Regions from separate parts of the Homo sapiens genome. Here regions 2, 3, 4, 5, 6 and 7 are each linked to region 1. Evidence: promoter capture Hi-C in 16 types of primary human blood cells and fetal thymus (Javierre and others, 2016). All regions are on one chromosome and are shown on one strand. The core of a region is centred on a gene start or on the middle of the fragment in contact, and the rest is flanking DNA. Distances in the headings are between cores, read along the strand shown.

Region 1 (3,212 bases), core at 1-2,500:
ACAGTGGCAGGCTGATTTGGAGCATTTTTGCTAAACTATTTATTTTTCAGAACGGAGATAGGCTACTTAGAAAACTCACTCATAGTATCCAATGTTTTTAGAAAGTGTCATCACAAATAATTCCTGAGTTTGACGTACTAAAAAATAGTTGACACCTTCCAATGAAGTCACTACAGGCATAGCGCTTTTAAGCAGCTTGTCTGGAGCCTCCTCGAGTGCCTTAGAGGGTGGATTTGATAATATGGCCTCCTTAATTACGGATCACAGGTATGTGCTCAAAGTCCAATAAGTTTTTGCAAGCTTTATCGGTCTAAACCCTCCTCCATCCGTATTCTCCCGTTTAGAAAAACAAGACTGCAGGAGTAACCGTGGGGTTTTTTCTCTTAACAAAACCCCTGCCCCACCCACCTCACACACAATAACCTTCCATTCCAGAACTAAAGCTACTGTCAGAGAAGGACGGCGGGCGGCAGGGCCCTGGCTGGTGACCCAGGCTACCGGATTCCGGACCTCAGAACTGAGGTGAACTCTCTCACCCGGTCCTAGAGTAGTGTCCAATGTCCCCGAAAGGTACTACGTTCTCCACCACCGAAACCCGAGCTCTCGAGCCGGCATGGGGGGCTCTCCCTCCGGCAGCTGACTTCGATCCCGGGTCTCCCGTCGCCTCAAGGCCTCTTTCGAGGACTCGGCCCTCTCGGATCCGCTCCCCGGAGCTCGCTGCTCGTCCAGCCCCGCTTTGCGCGGGCGCCGACCGCCGATCGCCCGGCCGGCCGCCGGCAGGCCCGTCACCAGGCAACACCCACCAGCCTGAGCGGCCCTGGGAGGCCTAACCCGGGCGCGAGTCCTCCATTCCCTCCTCGCCGGCTCCGGGAGCCCAGGCGAGAGAGCCGCCGGTGAGGGAGGTCGGTCGGTGCCGGCGGCCGGTCACTTACCTCTTCCTTCTTCCAGGAGGGGCGGTGCTGGGGCTCTTTCCCCCCGCCCCCCTAATAAACGCCTCCTGGCTGTTCCTGCTCTGCCTTCGTGCCTGGCCACTGACTCTGGCTTTACTCCATATCCTCCGCCGCCCCCGCGGCCGCAAACGTCGGAGCTAGAAGGAAAGGGGTGGGGAGGGGAGGGACCGGGGACGAAGAGTAAGGGAGGGGGAAAAAGACTAAAAGACCTGCCGGCCGGGGGCATGACGTCACTTCCTGCCGGTTCGGAAGAGGCGGAGCCAGTACTTCTCTCCGCCCCGGGTGTCAGGTGGGGCGGGGCTATGGTGCCAGGGGAGGAGCCAGCGCGCGAGCTTATGGCGGTTCTTTTGACTCCGAGGTTCCGTAGACTTGTCAGTCAGAACGAGCTTCCGGGCCCAGGGCTGAACGGGCCAAGTTCCAGGAACCGTAGAGATGGCTTCTGCCGGAAAAGGAGGACAGGTAGCCCTGTATATCCTAGCCAAATGTGCAGTGAAGGTGGAGGGGGCAGCTGAAGGGAGCAGGCGGCTGGGACTCTGCTCCTCATTGGTCCAGGGCCCCGCCCATTTCCTAGCCCCGCCCCCTTCCTGCCCTACCAGGCACTGGACTGGGGGACCCAGGACTGAGGCTTTTTAGGGGTTACTGTGGTGAAGTGCCCTTGGAGCGTGCAGGAAAGCGTTTTTTCTCAAACTTTAATATACATACGAATCCCTAGGATCTTGTGAAAGTGCAAATTCTGATTGAGGAGTAGGGTCTGATAATCTGCGTTTCTAATACATGTCCAGATGGCACCAATGCTGCTGGTCCCTAGGCTACACTTACAGCAACAAGGGGTTAATGTACTAGAGGGCAAATTCCTTGAGCTAGAGGAGTTATTTCTTTAATCTAGCCTACTTGTTTAATGAAGGTTAGAGAGGTAGACTGTCTATGGAAAACAGGCTGTACCGCTGTATTTTCCACCTACCCCGTCGAGTACCCTCCTGCCCACCTCCGCCCATCACTTTCTGGCCTCCCCTCCTCAGTCTCCGCTCTGCCCACAATGTCTGGGGATAAGATTTCTTGAGTGATTAGACGGGTAACTTCTGTTACAGAAGGAATTTGAGGGTGGTGGATTTTTATTTCTGTCATTTTATCGTAAACATATGTATAGTTGGGCATACTTTTGCGGTTATGCATAGTTGGAGAAGAGAGCTTAAGTTCTTGGATTCTACCCACTTCCCCCTGCAAATCTAGAAAAAACATTCTAGAAGTTCTAAGTTATTCCCTTATCATTCTTTAATTTTTTTAATTAATTTTAATTAAATTTAATTTTAATTAAAATTTTACTGGGGTACGGAAGAATGAAGAATGACTGCGAACTATAGGTTTCTTTGTGGAATGATGCAATGGTCTGAAATTAGATAATAGTGATGGCTGCACAACTTTGTGAATGTACTAGAAACACTGAATTGTACACTTTAAAAGGGTACATCCTCTTTCATCAGCCACCATTACAATCCTTCTTCCCCAAGGTTACTCGTTTGAAGTTTATTCTTCCAGATCTTTCTATTTATTTACATACATTTTTACATAGGTTGGGAATTCATTTTTACCTAAGTAGGATAATAATATACAAGTTGTTCTGCTCAGCTCATTTTTAAAAAATTTTTGTTTTGGGTTTTTCTTTTTCCCTACTTAATGAGATCCTTGCACACTATAAACATAGCTCTACTTCATTCTTTCTAATGGCTGGCTACTATTCTATAGTAAGGGTATACCATAATTTATTTAACTGTTTTTTTCAGGTAATAGACTGTTTTTTTTCCCTTGCCCAGGCTGGAGTGCAATGGCGTGATCTCGGCTCACCGCAACCTCCACCTCCTGGTTCTAGCAATTCTCCTGCCTCAGCTTCCCAAGTAGCTGGGATTACAGGCGTGCGACACCATGCCCAGCTAAATTTTTTTGTGTTGTATTTTTGGTAGAGATGGGGTTTCACTATGTTGGCCAGTGTGGTCTTGAACTCCTGACCTCCACCTGCCTCAGCCTCCCAAAGTGCTGGGATTACAGGCTTAAGCCACTGCGCCTGGCCAACTGTTTTTGTTTCTAATTGAGACAGGGTCTCACTCTGTTGCCCTGACTGGAGTGCAGTGGCAGGGTCACAGCTCACTGCAGCCTCGGCCTCCCTGGCTCAAGTGATCCTCCCACCTCAGCCTCCTGAGCAGCTGGGACTATAGGAGCACGCCACCATGCCCCACTAATTTTTTGTATTTTTTATAGAGTCTCCCT
Region 2 (3,212 bases), core at 478-2,977, 1.9 Mb before region 1:
CTGTATGTTTATTATGTACATATTAATAACACTATTATTAATAGCATTTATTATGTCCTAAAAGACTAAATATCTTACAGTACTAGCTATCTCTCCCTAGAAGGTTCACTCCATAAGAAGTGACTTCTTTCATTACTGTATTCCCAATTTTTACAATGATGTCTAACACACAGTAAAAACTCAATATTTGTTCAAAAAATGACTGACTACATAAAATAAAATAACATTTTGTCATTGTTTTCGAGATTCAAAATTTATCTTAACATGCATTGTTTAAAATATGCAAAACTGCCAACTATTCACAGGTAGAAAACACTATCCCTGTTTTAAGATTTTATACTTTTTAATTTTTAAGTGTTAAAATATTCTTCCTTTTTCAAAATGATGATCATAGTATATAGTAACTATTTTTTCTCAATGGCCTTATTTGCAAAAATGAGAAATGGTTAAAATCTGTCAGTGTCTAATAATTTTTTAGAAATTTTACTGTCTATGGAATCTAAAAATCTGGAAACTACTGACATATAAAATTAAAATAACTCATCAGAATGTCATTTCAATATCTAGCCCAACAGACCCATTGAAGCTAATTCTACCCTTCAAAAATCCTCTTCTCTAGTCAAGCCAGTATCTTTGCCAAGTTCATACCATGACTTTGATTCCCCTGAACCCTTCTTCTGAACTGACTTTCCTCATCATACCTCCTCTACAGCCTTCTCTTCCTTTATCTAAAATCTATCTAATATCACAAAGCCTTTCCTTACCACTCTATCCTACATTCATCCTTCTCTCATCTGAACACCTCTAACCCTTAATCTACGGCTTAAATCCAAACGCTAGTTTGGCTCAAGCTACCTAAGTAAGAATCACTTTGTGGAAATTTTTTAAAGGCAGTTTCCAGTATCCCGGTGCAGATTGGAAGAATTTCCAGGATTGGGGTACAAGAGCCAGTAGTTTTTAAAAGTTTAGGGAATGAAAAAAGTCTTATTAAATAAAAATAATTTGACCACAATAATAATAGTTACATGTTTATCCTAAATCTTCCTATTAAACATCAAATATGCATGTCCCGTGTATAACCATACATAAGAGCTTAATTTTGAAATAATTCATTTCAAATTCTATCATAACATTCTGACACAGATACACAGAGGCATTTGTGAAAATGGTGTATTATCACAGAAGGGCACATAATGTAAAGAAATTAATATTCTTAAGCTTAAGTTTATTCAAATGGGCAGCAATGAAATTTTGCTTTAAAAAAACAAGTTAACCCAAATATAGTTTACCAACCTGTTTGTTGTTCTCCGCCATAGAAAGCTGCAATGCCAAGAGCATGGAGTCTGCACCACATAGAGTAGTTCTCTCAGAGTTACAAAGAGCACGCCAATTTTTTCGAAACTCTTTAATCATATCCGAGACAGACTTCTGATTAAACACAGCCATTATCTTAAAGTAGGACAGAATACAAAGTTAAAGTATCTTATGTTAACCTGAAATTAACATTTAACATGTATAGGCAAGCACAGATAGAGAAAAACATATAGTGAATGAGAGGTCATTTCATATTTACCAAGATTGCTTTTAATTAAATTTAGGAAAACAAAATAATACAATTTCTGCGCAATCATATTTCCCTCCCCTTTGGTTTCTTAAGCCAAACCTTCTGAAAGAACAAAATGTAGCCTTCAATTCTGAAAATTCACACAAAAACAGACATGCAAATTTACTGCAAACTTATAATTACAAATATACCTAATTAAAGCTGTATTTAAATATATATATTTGTTTTGAGATAGGTAATAAGTCTGATAAATTGGGAAAAAAAAAAAAAAACCTAAAAAGCCAATTTCCTCCCATCCTACGTTGTCCCAAAAGAGGTGGCCTATTTTTCTACCCTTTTGAATCTGGACCAGGCTTGTGACTTGATTTAACCAATAGAATGTGGCAAGAATGACGCTGTGGGAGTTCTGAGCTTAGGCCTTAAGTGGTGTGTGCAGAAGTACTAATACAATAGGCCTGAATGCTCTCCTTTGAAGCTGGAGTCCAGTTTGGGAGCTTAGATTTCAGGAGTGTTTCCAGTAAGAGTGGTTCACTGTGCTAAACTGTTCATACAAACAATATAGTTTATGCTAAACACTTGCGAGTCTGGAATTTTGGTACATGTCAGACAGTGGATGCCTTTGCATTTAGCCCCCAATAAAAACCCTGGGCATTAAGTCTCTAATAAGCTTCCCTGGTAGACATTTCACATGTGTTGTCACCACCTATTACAACAGGAGGAATTGTGTCCTGTATGACCACTAGAGTATCACCAAGCAGTGTCCCACCCAAACTGCTGATCCACAGAATCAGAAGGAAATGGTTATTTTAAAACCTTAACTTTTGAAATGGTTTGTTACACCGTACTACATAACCAATAAAATAACTAATATTTAGGAGCTAACTTGGTGGAGATACTTTTCAAAAGCTTAATATTGATTACCTCACTCGACTGTCATAAGTGTCCAATAAGACAGGTCTGTTATTATCCTTATTTTACCTAATAACCTCCACGTCACTCAGCTTGTAAGTGGACAAACAGCATAAACTTAATATGTCTAACTCTATAAGCTGTGTTCTTAAAGCATCATGTTAAGTAACTTCTCCTGATGCACACAAAAGCCTTTCAAAATAATTTGAGGTAGTGCCAATGTTTCATATACCCAAGACTATATAAGGCATCCAATTCCTTTCTCTGAGTTTACAGACATGCCTGCTAAAAGTTTTTTTCCTACTTTAAGTACTCAAGTCTCAACATACTCACATGCCCATCATCTTATTTTGGGTATTTTCCTGTACTTATTCCATTTCCTGACTCCTTCTGCTATCCTTTTCTTCTATTTTTATGTGGCATAAACAGAATCCTAGATGTTTACTTTGGTTTGTATAATCAAGAGCAAAGATACATGCCACTTGCAATATAATTAAATTATAGACACAATCTATGATGCAACTTAAAGATACAGGTAGAAGATTAGAGATTAATTATTTACATAAATGCAAATCCTAGTAAATAGCTAAGAATTGTATTTCTCTTCAAAAAATCACCCTCATCTCTTGAAAGAAAAAAGAAAGTGAAGAACTGTCAGCTTCAGTGACATGGTCACTTTGCCTGAAATACATTTTTAGGAGTAAATTACTTACTGGTATTATTTAAAGGTAGTATTATG
Region 3 (3,212 bases), core at 469-2,968, 1.8 Mb before region 1:
TCATTCAACATATCTTTGCATGCCCCCAGTAGTTGTAGCTGCATTAGCTGCACATACACAGATAGAAAGTAGCAGAACTGGATTCCCACTGATTTTTTAACTGGAAAAGTCAATATCTCATTGCTTTCTTACATTGCACTGCTTTATCTGATTAAGAAGCATGCTTATGTCAACTTCAAGTGAGAGAGTGCAGTACAAGTACCTTCTTATAGCTATATTAAAATCTATTTTTAGACTCATTCACTTCTTTGCTATGCTATGTCTGTTTGATGTAATATATTTTTATGTCAATTCCAAAGATACATGTATTCAAATGTAAGGTGCCATTTTCTCCCAAGGTAAAGTCACTTTGGTGTTTTGAAATGTTTTTGTTAATAGTGCCTAATAGGCCTCTAGTCCTTATTTATTTAAAGCCTCAAACAAGAACCAACTGACTGTTTCTCTCAACAAAAGAGGAACCTCAACTGTTAGTTTTTGAACTGAGAGTGAACTGGGAGGAAAAAGAAAACTTTTCCCACCCCCCGACAGGATCTGGTTTGAACCAAACCCAACCTTAAACAACTTCAGTCACAGATAAACCCTCAAGCCAGAATTAAGTTTGAAACAAATTGCTAGGGTTCTTTCTTCATCAGTGGCACTGTTTCTAGAGTTCTTCATTAAAGAGAAGAGTATAAAACTGCATTCTGTGAAGAACTCAACTTTGCAAAAACTTTCTGCATATTAGGCTACTTTTGTAACTCTTCCAGTGATTGGCACCAGAGTAGAAGAGAGATTAGATGACAGAGAAAGTAGTAGAATCAGACCCACATTACAGAGGTACTTAGGGTCATCTCCTCTTCCATCACAAATCCCCAGTGAGCATTTTTATTCTTGCTTTAGTCAGCAAAATCTTATGGTCATCCATTGGGACTGCAAATTTTGAGGGGTTGGCAGGAAGCAACATAAGCTCTATGCATATTGCAGGTGAAACCTGAGCATTTAACCTTATAGTGAATTTTAAAGTCAAAGGTACTTTATAAACAGGAGTGCCAAATGTGTTACTTTGGTTTTTTGTTTGTTTGTTTAATAATTTTTTTTTCTTTTCTTTTCCCCCCGAGACGGGGTCTTGCTGTATCACCGAGGCTGGAGTGCAGTGGCGTGATCACAGCTCAGGGCAACCTCAACTTCCTGGGCTCAAGTGATCCTCCCACCTCAGCCTCCCTAGAAGCTTGGACTATAGGCATGTGTCACCACACCCGGCTAATTGTGTGTGTGTGTGTGTGTGTGTGTGTGTGTGTGTGTGTTAGAGATGGCATCTTACTACATTATCTAGGCTGGTCTCCAACTCTTGGGCTTAAGTGATCCCTCGGCCTCGGCCTCCCAAGTGCTGGAATTATAGGCGTGAGCCACTGTACCTGGCCAGAATGTTATTTTAATTCAAACTTTTTTTGTTGTTTTTTTGTCAGACAGGGTCTCACTTTGTCACCCATGCTGGAGTGTAGTGGAGTGAACTTAGCTCACTGCAGCCTAGACCTCCTGCCTCAGCGCCCCAAGTAGCTGGAACTACAGGTGCGTGCCACCACACCTGGCTAATTTTTTGTATTTTTTGTAGAGACAGGGTTTCCCTATGTTGCCCAAGCTGGTCTTGAACTCCTGAGCTCATCTGCCTGCTTCGGCCTCCCAAAGTACTAGGATTACAAGCACCCTCAGCCAAACTCAGACTTATTACATGCCTAAGATACTGGATTTTTAAATAATTTTTTTAAATTCTGAAATTTTTCTTTTTTCTAAAATCTTTAGGTACAAGCAAAAGTGCTGAGAATTGTCACATAACCTGAAAGTTTCTTTAGTGCTTATCTTCTACATTCATTTTTTTAGCCTGCCATTGGACTTAACCTTTAATCAGATAATATTTTGCTTAAATCCTTATTTGCTCTTATATCTTTAACCACTGCTGGGCTTAAGTATCAGACACAACCTAATAAAACCATTCATTGCTTCCTTTTCTGGCTTCTGGGGCACACGCAACACAGTGGGGTATACCAAGAGATCCATTATCTTAAAATACTGTTTCTCTTTTAGAGAAATGGATATATAAACAAGATATTTTACAACCATGAAAAACCAGCATTTTATTTTGTTTCCATATTCAACTAGTAACTCCATATTTCCTTCTTTCTTTTGTCCTTTTTTTTTTAACTTTATAAAATGTACTGCCTTGGAAATACATGGGTAGTAAATCAAGCTTTCAGCTTATCTGACAAATATCAGGGACTTTGTAAATTCCCCTGTTATCCCAAACCATAGCATTTCAAGTTTGTTTTCAGTCTTCATGAAGACGATGGTTAAATGGATGGGAAAGACTGTTACCTTTCCATTTCCTCTTGCTAAAACTTTCAGAGGTGAGAACAGCTACTGTCACCGATTATGTTACTTATGTTATATCCACAGTCATCCATAATTTAGAGCAGTGGCTCTCAACCAGGGGACATATGGCTATGTCTAGAGGTGTCTTTGATTGTAATAACTGGGGAGTGCTACTAGCATTTAGTGGATAGAGACCAGAGATTCTGCTACCCATCTTGTAGTGCTCAGGACAGTCCCCTGCAGCAAAGAATATTTCACCCACAAATGTCAATATAGCTAGCATTGAAAAACTTGTTTTATAGTGGTCTGGGGATTGTATAAGGAAAATGCCACAAGCATACACATCTTAGAAATGAACTTCAGCAGCCCATAAATGAACCCAGGTATACCTTTTCACCTGACAATGGCTCTTTAAAAAGTATACATTCAGGTATGTTATACCAATAATTACACTGGAACATACAAAACCATTTATTATACTGAATTATCTTTGAAAAGTAGTTCTTTCTTAATCATGCCATGGACCCTTTGACAGTCTAGTGAAACCAAATTAATGTTTTCAGGTGGATAGAATAAAATGCATAGGATTACAAAAGAAACCAGTTATATACTTAAAAAAATTTAAAACTATGACATACTAGTAGGTTCTTTATTAAAGCATTAAATTATATAATCCTTTCATATGTCTAATAACCTTAATTTTGAAGTATAAGGAAATCTGCAGCAATTGTGATGTGATTTAAAAAAAAAACTATGATTTCTATTGGTGACAGTCTTAGATCCTAAAACCACTGTGATTTTTTTTCTTTTTCTTTTTTTTTTCTTTTGAGACGGAGTCTCACTCGTCGCCCAAGCTGGAATGCAGT
Region 4 (3,212 bases), core at 421-2,920, 1.8 Mb after region 1:
GAAAGACCTATTTTTAGCTGGGCCACCAAAGAATGATGATGAACTTAGAAAAAGAATGGGGGAAATGTTTTCCAGCACTTAGGGAACAGAGAAACATTAATACAAAGGCTCAGAGCATGTGGCAATTTGGGAAAAGTGGCAATGCGGGAAAGAGTATATGGTGGAGGGGCTGCTGCTTAGGGGACTGGAGTGGCAGGGGGCAGGAAATGTCTTCACCTTTCATTATAATGCATGACTGGGGAGAATTAAACATCACAATCTTTGAGGAACTGACAGGAACCTTACCTATCTTCTTGATCCTTTCGTTATACAGATAAGGAAACTGAGGCCAGACAGCTCCAGTGATTTAACTAAATTCCTGTGGCCGAGAACATCACCTTTATCTGTTGCTGTAAATTAAGGAATCTGTGGGCTTAGTGATTAGGTGTCCCTCAGAGGTTTTCAGGGCCTCAGATCTTGCCATCACTTTCCTTAGAGTTATCTGTTCCTGGGCTGGCCTAAGCTTCCTGTCCTTTAAGGAACCTGCCTGCCAACATTGGCCCCAACCCAACAGGAGATCAGTGACCTCCGTTTTCCTGACTTTTTTCCTGCCCTACTGACCACCTGCTGACCTATCCCGGTTAATAGCTTTACTGATCTGTCTAGCTTTGAGGCAAACACTAGCCCCAGTGTGAGGAACAAAGGGTCCTGGTGACCCACACCCCCTGGCCCTTTGGCATTCAGTCCTCAGGCTACCCAGAAGGACAAATTATTCAGCCTGTTTGGGGTGGGATGGAACAGTTTCTACTTCTTTTCTTTGGATTTTTTTTTTTTTTTTGAGACCCGTCTCACTCTGTCACCCAGGCTGGAGTGCAGTGGTGTGACCTTGGCTCACTGCAACCTGCGCCTCCCAAGTTCAAGCAATTTTCATGCCTCAGCTGCCCGATTAGCTGGGACTACAGGTGCGGGCCACCATGCCTGGCTAATTTTTGTATTTTTAATAGGGATAGGGTTTCACCATGTTGACCAGGCTGGTCTCAAATTCCTGACCTTGTGATCCGCCTTGGACTTCCAAAGTGCTGGGATTACAGGTGTGAGCCACTGCGACAGGCCTTTTCTTTAGTCTTTCCGTGTTTTCTAAACACAAAGCAACAGAAAAACTTCTGCTTCAAATGCATGACTCAGGTCTGGCATTCAAGTTGCTGCTATTTTGGGAAAAAAGCTGCCTGTAGCTTTTGAAATTTCTTATTCTCCTACCTGTGATTAACTCATATGATTAGCAAAGTTTTATTATCAGAATTTATCAATAAAATGAAGTTAGTGATCTAGAAAATAAGAAGAGAACCAGCACAAAATAGCACGCAGAATCCCATTTTTTTTCTATGCATTTGTAAGTACTGGAAACGTCTGGTGGCTGGGTGCGGTGGCTCATGCCTGTAATCCCAGCACTTTGGGAGGCTGAGGCGGGAGGACCACTTGAGGTCAGGAGTTCGAGACCAGGCTGGCCAACAGAGTGAAACCCCGTCTCTACTAAAAATACAAAAATTAGCTGGGCGTGGTGGTGGGTGCCTATAATCCTAGCTACTCGGGAGGCTGAGGCAGGAGAATCACTTGAATCTGGGAGGCGGAGGTTGCAGTGAGCCTAGATCGCGCCATTATACTCCAGCATGGGGACAGAGTGAGACTCCGTCTCAAAAAAAAAAAAAAAAAAAAGGAAGAAAGAAAGAAGAAAACATCTGGAAAGAAGTAGCTGAAGATATTAAAAGTAGTTATATCTGGGTTAAGAGTGTGTTGATGATCGCTGTTCTTTTTGCTATTCCACCTTTTCTAAATTTTCTACTATGTGCATATATTGAACTCAGAAAAGCAAACAATAAAATTTTCTTTAAAGTTATTAATATTAGGCAAAGCAAATAGCTCAAATGTACATTTGTGATAGTCCTCTTAGCCTATGACATGTTGAGTAATGTATTCTAGTTTGGTTTTCCTTGTTAGCCAGATTTCATTATTTTGCAGCTTAAGTTGTTTATTTCTAGTTCCTTAAGGTGGGGAGGAGGTGAGGAGGTGAGGAGGGTGAAGAAGCAAATTCCACTTCAGTAAAACAGGGCGTGCAGCCTTTTCCCCTGAGTCCCTTTGTCTCAAGGCCCCTGTGTTCCGGGTCTTTTGTTGTTCTCTGCATGGACTTTGATTCGAGATTTAAAGAAAAACAAGTGCTGGCCCTCCTTGCGCCCTCTGGTGTCCCAGTGAGGTATAACCGGACAAACCGCACAAAGATCACAGCCATTTTCACACAGCGCTCCCCCGACACAGTGATGCCTGGAGACGGGAATGTCTGGAATCTTAGAGGAAGGAATCACACACCGACAAGCATGGCAGGCTTAGTCTTTGAAACTTAATCAGAGCCTGTAAGTATGGATACTGTTTTTTAAAAAATTAAAAGCAGTATCTGGACTGCAAGTATTTAAAAAACCTAATAGGAAATAAGTCAACTCTCAAAGCATTTGGCACAGCTTTCTGGGTTCTAAAACTAAGAAAATCTTACTACATATGTTGTTTTATAAATACAGCATAAACCAGTACTTTGTTATTTGTTTTAAAAATTTCTTTTAGAGACAGGGTCTTGCTCTGTCACCCAGGCGGGAGAGCAGTGGTGCAATCTTAGCTCACTGCAGCCTTGAATTCCTGGCCTCGGGTGATCCTCCATGCTTCCGCCTCCCAAAGGACTGGGTTTACAGGTGTGAGTCACTGTGCCTGGCCTAGAACTTTGGATTAATTGCAAATAAATTAGGTGAAAGAGAGGTCTGGATACCTAGGCTTTAGCTTGACTGAGGATAATGATTTCCGCAACTTTAAGCTTTACCATGTAGACCAAAAATAAAATTCTAAGCTCCCCAATCAGTTGAATGGATGCCTCCTTGTCCAGGGGCATTCCAAAGTTACCTGAAACGCTAGTTCATGTCATGATGGGAACAGGTGGTCAGACAAGCCTCATTATACTCTCCTCCCTTTGGGACAGAGTCCCTTTGGGATTCAGGCACATCTGACCAGCATTAACATAAGTCTGACAAAGAAGGCTTTTTGTAGCAGTAAGATACCAACATGACAGACAGCAGGCCCTGAAGTAAATTGAAGTAGTTTACCCCAAAAAATATATATATATTTTTGACACATTTTGAAATGGCCCTGCAAAGGTGTCTCTTGTGGGGAAAATCTACTTTCAGTAGAGAATCCCC
Region 5 (3,212 bases), core at 343-2,842, 1.8 Mb after region 1:
GGAGGCTGAGGTAGGAGAATCGCTTGAACCCGGGAGGCAGAGGTTGCAGTGAGCCGAGATCGTGCCACTGCACTCCAGCCTGGGCGACCGATCAAGACTCCATCTTAAAAAAAAATAATAAGAGGGGCCAGGAGCGGTGGCTCACACCGGTAATCCCAGCACTTGGGGAGGCCAAGGCGGGCAGATCACATCAGGAGTTCGAGACCAGCCTGACCAACATGGTGGAAGCCCCTCTCTACTGAAAATACAAAAGTTAGCCGTGCCTGGTGGCATGCGCCTGTAATCCCAGCTACTTGGGAGGCTGAGGTGGGAGAATCCCTTGAACCCGGGAGGCGGAGGTTGCAGTGAGCTGAGATGGCACCATTGCACTCCAGCCTGGGCAACAGAACGAGACTCGGTCTCTCAAAAAAAAAAAAAGTTTAGCTCCCTTAAGCCATTTCTGATAATTTATTCTAAAGATAAAATCAAATGTGGAATTCATTTATAAAGGTATTTATTGCTTCATTTATAATGGTGAAAAAAATAAAAAATCTCTATCTCCAATAGTAAGGAATTGGTTGTTTATGATATATCCATATGACAAAATAATGCACAGTAGTAAAAAATCATGTTTTGACATTTAAGAATATGAGGCTGGCTTGGTGGCTGTCACCTATAATCCCAGTACTTTGGAAGGCTGAGGTGGGAGGATCCCTTGAGCTCAGGAGTTTGAGACCAGCCTGGGCAACATAGGGAGACCCCAGTCTCTACTAAAAATAACCAAAAATTAGGTGGGGCCGGGCACGGTGGCTCACGTCTGTAATCCCAGCACTTTGGGAGGCCGAGGCGGGCGGATCACCCAAGGTCAGGGGTTCAAGACCAGCCTGGCCAACGTGGCGAAACCCTGTCTCTACTAAAAATACAGTAATTATCCAGGTGTGGTGGTGGGCACCTGTAATCCCCAGCTACTTGGGAGGCTGAGGCAGAAGAATCACCTGAACCTGGGAGGCGGAGGTTGCAGTGAGCCAAGATCTCGCCATTGCACTCCAGCCTGGGCAAGAGCGGAACTCAGTCTCAAAAAAAAAGAAAAAAAAAAAATTAGCTGGCATGCTGGTGTGCTCCTGTACTCCCAGCTATTGGGGAGGCAAAAAAAAAAAAAAAAAAAAGAAAAGAAAAGAAAAAAAATAATATACATCAAAGTGGAGTACTTTCTCTTGGATAGTGAGGCACAGGTGATTCTTATTTTCTTTTTATTTATATGTCTGTATTTCCCTAGATTTCCACAATGAACACATATGATTTTAAAACCATATTTTTCTTTTTAAGTGAGAGTGCTAAGTTGGAGAACCATTTGGCTTATCAGAATTCAGGTCTGCATTTCAATTCTGCGTGTCCAAAAGCTCAATTTTATTAGTTCGTCCAGAATACATCGCTCTGTAAACCAAGAGAATCGGAGACAGGTCTCAATCAATTTAGAAAGTTTATTTTGCCAAGGTTAAGGACACACCCATGACACAGCCTCAGGAGGTCCTGACGACATGTGCCCAAGGTTGTGTGGCACAGCTTGGTTTTATACATTTTAGGGAGACATGAGACATCAATCAATATGTTTAAGATGTACAATGGTCCCATCCAGAAAGGCGGGACAGCTATTAATACAAGTGGGGGTTGGGGGGCTCCGGGGTGTTCCAGGTCATAGGTAGATAAAAGACCAATGGTTGCATTCTTTTGAGTTGCTGATTAGCCTTTCACTGAATACACTATTTACAGGAATAGTCACTTATGTTAGTCTGGCTTAGGGAAACAAAAGGGCAATCAGATATGCATTTATCTCATATGAGCAGAGGGATGACTTTTTAAATCTCTATCTGTCCTTTGTCCACAAGGAATTTCTTTGTGGTCAAATTGTGAGGGAGGTATATATAGCTTTTTTATCTTAGTAGCTATCTTTTTTTTTAGGAGTAGAATGGGAGGCAGGTTTGCCCTAAGCAGTTCCCAGCTTGACTTTCCCTTTGGCTTAGTCATTTTTGGGGTCCTGATGTTAGAGGGGTTTGAATCACAGCACCTCCATGTTGAAAAAAGGGTGGGTAAGGCCGTGCACGGTGGCCCATGCCTGTAATCCCAGCACTTTGGGAGGCCAAGGTGGGTGGATCACCTGAGGTCGGGAGTTTGAGACCAGCCTGATCAACATGGAGAAACCCTGTCTCTACTAAAAATACAAAATTAGCTGGGCGTGGTGGCACATGCCTGTAATCCCAGCTACTCAGGAGGCTGAGGCAGAAGAATCGCTTGAACCCGGGAGGCGGAGGTTGTAGTGAGCCAAGATCGCGCCATTGCAGTCCAGCCTGGACAACGAGCAAAACTCCGTCTCAAAAAAAAAAAAAAAAAAAAAAGAAAAGACCTACTGGGCTGCATTCCCAGACAGTTAAGGCATTTTAAGTCACAAGACGAGATAGGAGGTCGGCAGAAGATACAGGTCATAGGCCGGGCACGGTGGCTCACGCCTGTAATCCCAGCACTTTGGGAGGCCAAGGCAGGTGGATCACGAGGTCAGGAGTTCGAGACCAGCCTGACCAACATGGTGAAACCCTGTCTCTACTAAAAATACAAAAATTAGCTGGGCGTGGTGGCGCGTGCCTGTAGTCCCAGCTACTCAGGAGGCTGAGGCAGAAGAATTGCTTGAACCTGGGAGGTGGAGGTTGCAGTGAGCTGAGATTGCACCACTGCACTCCAGCCTGGGCGAGAGTGAGACTCTGTCTCAAAAAAAAAAAAAAAAAAAAAAAAAAAGACACAGGTCATAAAGACCTTGCTGGTGAAACAGGTTGCAGTAGCCTGCCAAAACCCACCAAAACCAAGATGGCGATGAGAGTGACCTCTGGTTGTCCTCACTGCTACACTCCCACCAGCACCATGACAGTTTACAAATGCCATGGCAATGTCAGGAGGTTACCCTATATGGTCTAAAAAGGGGAGGCATGAATAATCCACCCCTTGTTTAGCATATAATGAAGAAATAACCACAAAAATGGGCAATCAGCAGCCCTCTGGGCTGCTCTGCCTATGGAGTAGCCATTCTTTATTCCTTTACCTAATAAACTTGCTTTCATTTTATGGACTCGCCTTGAATTCTTTCTTGTGTGAGGTTCAAGAACCCTCTCTTGTGGTCTGGATTGGGACCCCAGTAACACCGAGATTTTTCTTTCACAGGACTTAAGTAACTAAAATACTCTCAG
Region 6 (3,212 bases), core at 355-2,854, 1.7 Mb after region 1:
TTTCATTATTTATCCCATTTTTGCTTATCTCCCTTACCCTTTCATCTGACAACCACTTCTTCCTACCTATTCTCCTTTCCTTTATCTGGGACTCATAGCTTTGAACATGAAGTGAGTTCAAAATGCTCCCACGAAAGCTTTTCAGTAAGAACAATTTAGATGTGGAAAAAGGCCATTTAAAATAACACAATTGTTACCATTGTTTTGTCCATACAGTATACTACTACTGTACAGCAAAGGTTGACTTACTAAATTAAAATTTGGAACATAGAAGGGAAAGTTTAAAAATGAAAAAAATCCATATAGTACCAAGCTTCTATAAGTAACTGCCATAACATTAATAAGTACAATATAAAAGCTTTTTTGATGTAGTTATAAAAAACCTAGGTACAACTCAGGTAAAGAAGGAATCTTGTTCACAGAAAAATACGACCAATCACAGGTCACTTCTCGTCCCAGTCCTTATAATAAAAATAACATTTCTTTGAAAAGAAGCCAATACTTATACACTTGTCACCATGATAGTTATTAACCTAACAACGCAAGGATATGTATTTTTTAATAGGCTTCAATATTCCAGTCTCCTAGTCTTAAATTCATCATCATTTGAAGATCTAGGTTTTGAAAAGACTGATTTTAGTTAACATCCCTGGCAGGGCATGGTGGCTCACGCTTGTAATCCCAGCACTTTGGAAGGCCGAGGTGGGCGGATCACCTGAGGTCAGCTTAAGACCATCCTGGCCAACATGGTGAAACCCCGTCTCTACTAAAAATACAAACATTAGCCAGGGTTGGTGGCAGACACCTGTAATCCCAGCTACTCAGGAGGCTAAGGCAGGAGAATTGCTTGAACCTGGGAGGCGGAGGTTGCAGCGAGCTGAGATCACACCATTGCACTCCAGCTTTGGGGACAAGAGCGAAACTTCATTTCAAAAAAAAAAAAATCCCTTTTTGTAGACATTTATCATGGTATAGCAAAATTAGTCAGTTGTTATTTCTAAAACTTCTACTACCAAAAATTTAAGTTAGATTACTTTCTTACTGAAGAGACAGAAAGGAAGTCAATTCTAAAGTTTTACATGAACTCTGAACTTGTGTGAAAAAGTGGTCAAGACATCTATATGTGTCTTGCTAACTTTCCAGTGTTAATACTAGTTAGTACAGAATCTATTTAATACTTGCAGGTTCCCAAAAACGAACAGTGATTTTTATCAAGTTAGTTTAAACAGTTCAGTCTTTATTTAGGACTAAGATTTCAAGTCCATCTCCCAACACTTCTATCAATGGATCTGTCAATGTATCTATGTTTGGTACAACCCCCAGCAATATAAAATCTATTTTATGCTTTGTTAACTCAGAATCTAAGAACTAGAAAGCACAAAGTAAAAAAAACCATTAGTAGTGGAATAGAAATCGGTTAAACGAATAAGGTATCTGGTTACAGATTAATTCCTCTTATAAATTTAGATTCCAACAGTCAATAAAAACATGGTCCTCAAACAGAAGAAAAACCATACCATAATCAGAATATTTTCAATTATACCACTGAAATGTCAAAGTGAGTTTCAATGATGAAATGGAAAAGGGGTGTTCATATACAAATATTTAACTTGTTGCAACTCCAAGAATAAAGCACACAGAACAACATGTTTCTGGAGACCACACAACACTGTTCAAATTTAACAACTTTATTGAATTTGCAGAAGCATTCTACAGTAATACATTTTTAAAAATCACATAGCACTCAGTAGGTACATGTATACATGTACATTTCAGAAGACAACAAATAAAATTACTCTCAGAAAGCTGCAAAGATGGACACATATAATCTAAGAATGTGGTAATGGCCAGAGGGAGTACCCAAGAGACCATATTTTATTATGCTTAAGGCTACTACTTTCCACAATACCTCTGCAGTTAAGACTCTTAACTTACAATCACAGAAATGAAAACATGATAATACACTGCTTTATACAGACATACAGATACTGGGATATAGTATAATTTCTTATGGCTTAAAAAAATTTAATTTGCTTTTAGAGTCTATATTGCTAAACTTAACTTTCCACAAAATACAATATATCATGAAAGCAAAGTATTATTTTTTAAAAGGCCCCATTATCTGACAAAATAGATGGTGAACATGCACTATCCCAGGATATCTATTATTATCCAAAGAAGTGTTTCTCAAAGTGTGGTCCATGGTACTGGTCCATGAATTGGTTGCTACCAGTCAATGAAGAGATAAATTACTTGCATCAGAGTGTAAATCAATACATTGCTTTAGCTATTAATAAAATTTTGCTAAAAAATCAAATCCTGTCATTGACCTAAAAAGTATCTCTAGATTTAAATTCTTGTGCATGCTTATCTTGCCTGTGGATAAGTAACAGTTTGTAGACTGGTGCTTTGAGTTGCATTGATCTAGACTACTATGATTGATGTTGCAGACATGAATAAATAACAAAGAAAAGTAAGAAAATATGAGCAAAAATATGGACAAGTTATGGAACGTGAAAAGATACTGAGATAAAAGTATCAAAAAGAACAACATCACTGTTCTGAATGTGTAACAAATGTTTAATTCTGTCCTAGGTATAAAGGAGGATGCATATTATTCTATTGAACAGTAAATACTCCTTATATCCTAATTAGAATTTTCTTAGTTTTGGAGAATTGTAAAAACATAAGTAAAGCAGGAAACAGAAAACAACTTAGAGACTAATATGTGATCTAGAAAGCGTTAAATTGTTTGTACCAGGCTTCCTATCTACGCAAATCTTTAGAAAAGACAAGTAGTTCTACACAGGCAATTACTTTTATACTGTAATTTGATGGGTAGAAGCTTAACATTTTGTAATTAGCCCTATCTGGAAACTAAAACAACCTTAACAGAAAAGAAAATGTTGGCATAAAGTACCTGAAAGATAAGATAGATGTCTTTTTGTCCTTAATTTTACTAGTGTTTATTTCCACGCTTTTTAATTACTTTGCATACTTCTCCTCCAAATAATGTTCCACCTTTAAAGGGAGTGGAAGCCAGCTTATTCTTAGAAGCTAAATTAATTTTGCAATCCTTCAGCCAGAGGTATCGACGACCTACAGTGGCATTTCCCATGGTATGGGCAGCCATCTTCACTTCATCAAATGCAGCTTCACAAATATATGAGGCTGCATCATATGTTTTGCTCAGAATCCCAAGCGCTTGGTGG
Region 7 (3,212 bases), core at 505-3,004, 1.6 Mb after region 1:
GGTGAGAAGATAGCTTGAGTCTGGGAAGTCAAAGCTGCAGTAACCCATGATTATACCACTGTGCTCCAGCCTGAGAGACAGAGCAAGACCCTGTCTCTCTAAAATGTATGTATTATATGTGTTTTTTATGGGCAGATTCTATAATTATTATTTAAATAGTTGCCTCTTAGTTGCTCTTGTGAAATCTTTTGCTGCAAAAATTGAAGCAAATGTACTTTGGTTGCTGTTTATTGCAAAATATTTATTCATAGTAAATTTTGAAATAAAAATATATCCCCATAAGACATTTGTAAACATTTTCCAGATAAAAAGCAAGTATTTGGCATCTTAAAATACTTAAAAGCTCACTAGAATTTTGACAAAGCCATTGAGATCTTTACCACTAAAACACGTAATTCAGCATCTAAAAGTCGGTCTATCAAATCTTTATTAAATGCTTTCCGTACTGACACGGCCCTGGTGGTTAAAATACAAGTGCATATGTGTGCCTGTCTGTGTACTCTTAAATACTGCTTACTCTCACTCTTCATCTGATTAAGTTGGAGGGAAAAAATCTGAACCCTTCCACTGCCCAAGAAGGATTTCAAGGAATCACACTATATCATTGTCTTCAGACCATTTCCTATGTGGAAAGAAAAGAGAAATAATACATAAGAAACTTAAAAGTGTGTTGCTTTAATATCTTCTCTCTGCTAAATAAAGGCCTGATAGGCCAGGTGTGGTGGCTCCCACCTGTAATCCCAGCACTTTGGGAGGCCGAGTTGGGCGGATCTTGAGCTCAGGAGTTCAAGACCAGCCTGGGCAACATGGTAAAACCCTGTCTCTACAAAAAATACAAAAAATTAGCCAGGCATGGTGGCGCATGCCTGTAGTCCCAGCTACTTGGGGGGTTGAGGTTGGAGGATTGCTTGAGCCCCGGAATTTGAGGTTTCAGTGAGCTTTGATTGCACCACAGCACTCAGCCTGGGTGACAAAGTGAGACCCTGCAAAAAAAAAAAGGCCTGATATATCCTATGTCATCTTGACAATAAACACTGGAGATAAGTTGCCCAAACCCATATGGCTTGAGTGTCAGTTTGCATAGCTCTTTTCTAAACTCTTATAGAAATTTTTCAGGTAAGAATTGAGGTGATTCTACTTTCAGAAAGTTAAAAAGTTGTTAAATTACTAAACAAGACACAAAACCTGTCACTCATGCTTATTTAATTACATAGAAATTTAATCAGCTGGAATTTCCATTGTGAAAATTTTGTTTCTTATGGAAACTTCAATAGATTTTTTAATTGCTTTTTTGTTTTGTTTTGTTTTGTTTTGTTTTGTTTTGTTTTGAGAGATGGAGTTTTGCTCTTGTTGCCCAGGCTGGAGTGCAGTGGCGCAATCTCAGCTCACCGCAACCTCCACCTCCACCTCCCAGGTTCAAGCAATTCTCCTGCCTCAGCCTCCCGAGTAGCTGGGATTACAGGTGTGCGCCACCACGCCCAGCTAATTTTGTATTTTTAGTAGAGACAGGGTTTCTCCATTGGTCAAGCTGGTGTCAAACTCCCAACCTCAGGTGATCTGTCCACCTCAGCCTCCCAAAGTGCTAGGATTACAGGCGTGAGCCACCGTGCCTGGCCTAAATTGCCTTTATAAAAGTTTTTTATAGTATCTGTTATAATTATGTACAAAAAGTCAAAAGCTCTTTAAGCAAGTTGTATAACTCTGGTTTTTGTTTTAATTATCCAATATAATTTTCTCTATAAATCATACTGTAAAACCTTGGCTAACTCCATTTCCAGCTTTTTTCTTTGTGTTAGTAGAGTTTTATCTAAAAGACAAGGGTATAATTTAAATGTCCTGCTTCTTAAAAATGGAATATGGTCAAGGTTTTCTTGAAAACTAGGTATTGTGCTAAAACTGAGGCTATAGATGGTATGAAACATAGGGCTAAATGGGTACTGACCCTAATAGTGGCCCTGGAACTTCTTTCCTTGCAGAAGGTCCGTAACAGCTTCCTTTGGTTATTTGCCTCTTTTTCATTATTAAGCTGAAATAGAGCCAGAGGAAATCCTGAATTTGTAAGTCCTCAGTCAGCTGTCTGCCACCATTTAACGTTCCTAAAGGAGCTATTCAGAGGCAACACACACCATTAATTACCACCATGCACTGTAGGAAAATGTAAACCATTCATTATCACAGGACCCTAGATAGATCTGTATGAGGTCTCTATAGACTGCAATGGCTCATGAAGGAGTCAGGAAGATTCTTTTTGTAAGGCCTACGCTAAAAGTAGCCTGGGTCCCTTTCTCCTGTATCTCACTCTTCCACAAGGCCATATGATATGATAGTGAGAAGAGGCCCAAAAACGAGAGTTATTTTTATTTAGTGATTTATAAGTGGTCTAATCCATCTATTCCATCCTTCATTTGCCATAAACACAACCCAGTTTATACTTAGTGTTCAAAGGGGGACAGGCCTGGGGCTTCTATCAAGTGCAAGTGGTCGGGAACCCTGCTTCCCTTATGCAATCATAGGCATGTAGGAAGGATGGAAGAGTAGCTGCACAAAGTAGTCCAAAAGAAAGATAGCTGGTCTTGTTGATGGGCACCTGTAATCCCAGCTAGCTGGGAGGCTGAGGCAGAAGAATCACTTGAACCCAGGAGGCGGAAGTTGCAGTGAGCCGAGATCACACCACTGCACTTCAGCCTGGACAACAGAGTGAGACTCCATCTCCAAAAAGAGAAAAAAAAGGGGCCACAGTACTTAAAGGAAATAGCTGATGTGCTATGGCTCTATTGTTCCAGGAGCTTTTATAAATAGCAATAACTAATGTCTACAATAACTCGGCCAGGCATGGTGGCTCACACTTATAATCCCAGCATTTTAGGAGGCCAAGGCGAGAGGATCGCTTGAGCCCAGGGAGTTTGACCTGCAGTGAACTATGATTGTGTCACTGTAGACCTCTTCCTCTTCAGCTGCCTCAAAAAACGAACAAACAAACAAAATAGCCAGATCTCCTCTCTACAGAATTTTTTTTTTTAATTAGCCAGTGGTGGTAATGTACCTGTGGTCCTAGCTACTTGAGAGGCTGAGGTGGGAGAATCACTTGAGCCCAGGAGTTCAAGGCTGCAGTAAGCTATGATCAGGCTACTGTACTCCAGCCTGGGTAACAGAATGAGACCTTGTCGAAAAACAAACTACAACCCTATGAAGTATTGGCTGGGTGCTCTGGC

The links. Contacts are between HindIII fragments. The CHiCAGO score rates a contact against its expected background, and 5 or more counts as called.
Region 2: a contact is called between a fragment that was not itself captured here and the fragment with the promoter of DEPDC4 in region 1, in 6 of 17 cell types (naive CD4 T cells, fetal thymus, total CD4 T cells and 3 more). The highest score is 8.9, in naive CD4 T cells.
Region 3: a fragment that was not itself captured here is called in contact with the fragment with the promoter of DEPDC4 in region 1 in 2 of 17 cell types (non-activated CD4 T cells and total CD4 T cells); the score reaches 5.8 in non-activated CD4 T cells.
Region 4: a contact is called between a fragment that was not itself captured here and the fragment with the promoter of DEPDC4 in region 1, in 1 of 17 cell types (fetal thymus). The highest score is 5.7, in fetal thymus.
Region 5: a fragment that was not itself captured here is called in contact with the fragment with the promoter of DEPDC4 in region 1 in 3 of 17 cell types (naive CD8 T cells, activated CD4 T cells and fetal thymus); the score reaches 8.0 in naive CD8 T cells.
Region 6: a fragment that was not itself captured here is called in contact with the fragment with the promoter of DEPDC4 in region 1 in 1 of 17 cell types (activated CD4 T cells); the score reaches 7.1 in activated CD4 T cells.
Region 7: a contact is called between a fragment that was not itself captured here and the fragment with the promoter of DEPDC4 in region 1, in 3 of 17 cell types (fetal thymus, total CD4 T cells and activated CD4 T cells). The highest score is 5.4, in fetal thymus.

Annotation. Positions count from the first base shown.
Region 1 is chr12:100,265,117-100,268,328 of GRCh38, reverse strand. It overlaps DEPDC4 (DEP domain containing 4), which reads left to right and starts at 1,250. Exons shown (of 10, transcript NM_001364818.2): 1 at 1,250-1,409. The coding sequence starts at 1,253. SCYL2 (SCY1 like pseudokinase 2) reads right to left here and starts at 1,152. Exons shown (of 18, transcript NM_017988.6): 1 at 537-1,152. RefSeq lists enhancers at 518-577, 588-657, 1,328-1,407 and silencers at 728-807, 908-957. The HindIII fragment of the contact is 4,398 bases long and covers 303-3,212 here.
Region 2 is chr12:102,122,123-102,125,334 of GRCh38, reverse strand. PARPBP (PARP1 binding protein) reads right to left here. Exons shown (of 11, transcript NM_017915.5): 2 at 1,294-1,449. The coding sequence starts at 1,446. Among named protein-coding and RNA genes, the nearest start is that of PARPBP, 3.5 kb to the right of the region's middle. The HindIII fragment of the contact is 1,013 bases long and covers 1,221-2,233 here.
Region 3 is chr12:102,048,525-102,051,736 of GRCh38, reverse strand. The region is part of intron 2 of WASHC3 (WASH complex subunit 3); the gene reads left to right. Among named protein-coding and RNA genes, the nearest start is that of WASHC3, 12 kb to the left of the region's middle. The HindIII fragment of the contact is 1,017 bases long and covers 1,210-2,226 here.
Region 4 is chr12:98,490,166-98,493,377 of GRCh38, reverse strand. The region is part of intron 3 of LINC02453 (long intergenic non-protein coding RNA 2453); the gene reads left to right. Among named protein-coding and RNA genes, the nearest start is that of TRD-GTC1-1, 12 kb to the left of the region's middle. RefSeq lists a silencer at 2,553-2,847. The HindIII fragment of the contact is 2,331 bases long and covers 505-2,835 here.
Region 5 is chr12:98,507,799-98,511,010 of GRCh38, reverse strand. No RefSeq gene overlaps it. Among named protein-coding and RNA genes, the nearest start is that of TRW-CCA4-1, 5.2 kb to the right of the region's middle. RefSeq lists an enhancer at 2,099-2,642. The HindIII fragment of the contact is 8,186 bases long and covers 1-3,212 here.
Region 6 is chr12:98,534,090-98,537,301 of GRCh38, reverse strand. All of the region lies in intron 3 of TMPO (thymopoietin), which reads right to left. Among named protein-coding and RNA genes, the nearest start is that of TMPO-AS1, 19 kb to the right of the region's middle. The HindIII fragment of the contact is 2,487 bases long and covers 361-2,847 here.
Region 7 is chr12:98,638,559-98,641,770 of GRCh38, reverse strand. All of the region lies in intron 1 of IKBIP (IKBKB interacting protein), which reads left to right. Among named protein-coding and RNA genes, the nearest start is that of IKBIP, 4.6 kb to the left of the region's middle. The HindIII fragment of the contact is 4,214 bases long and covers 1-3,212 here.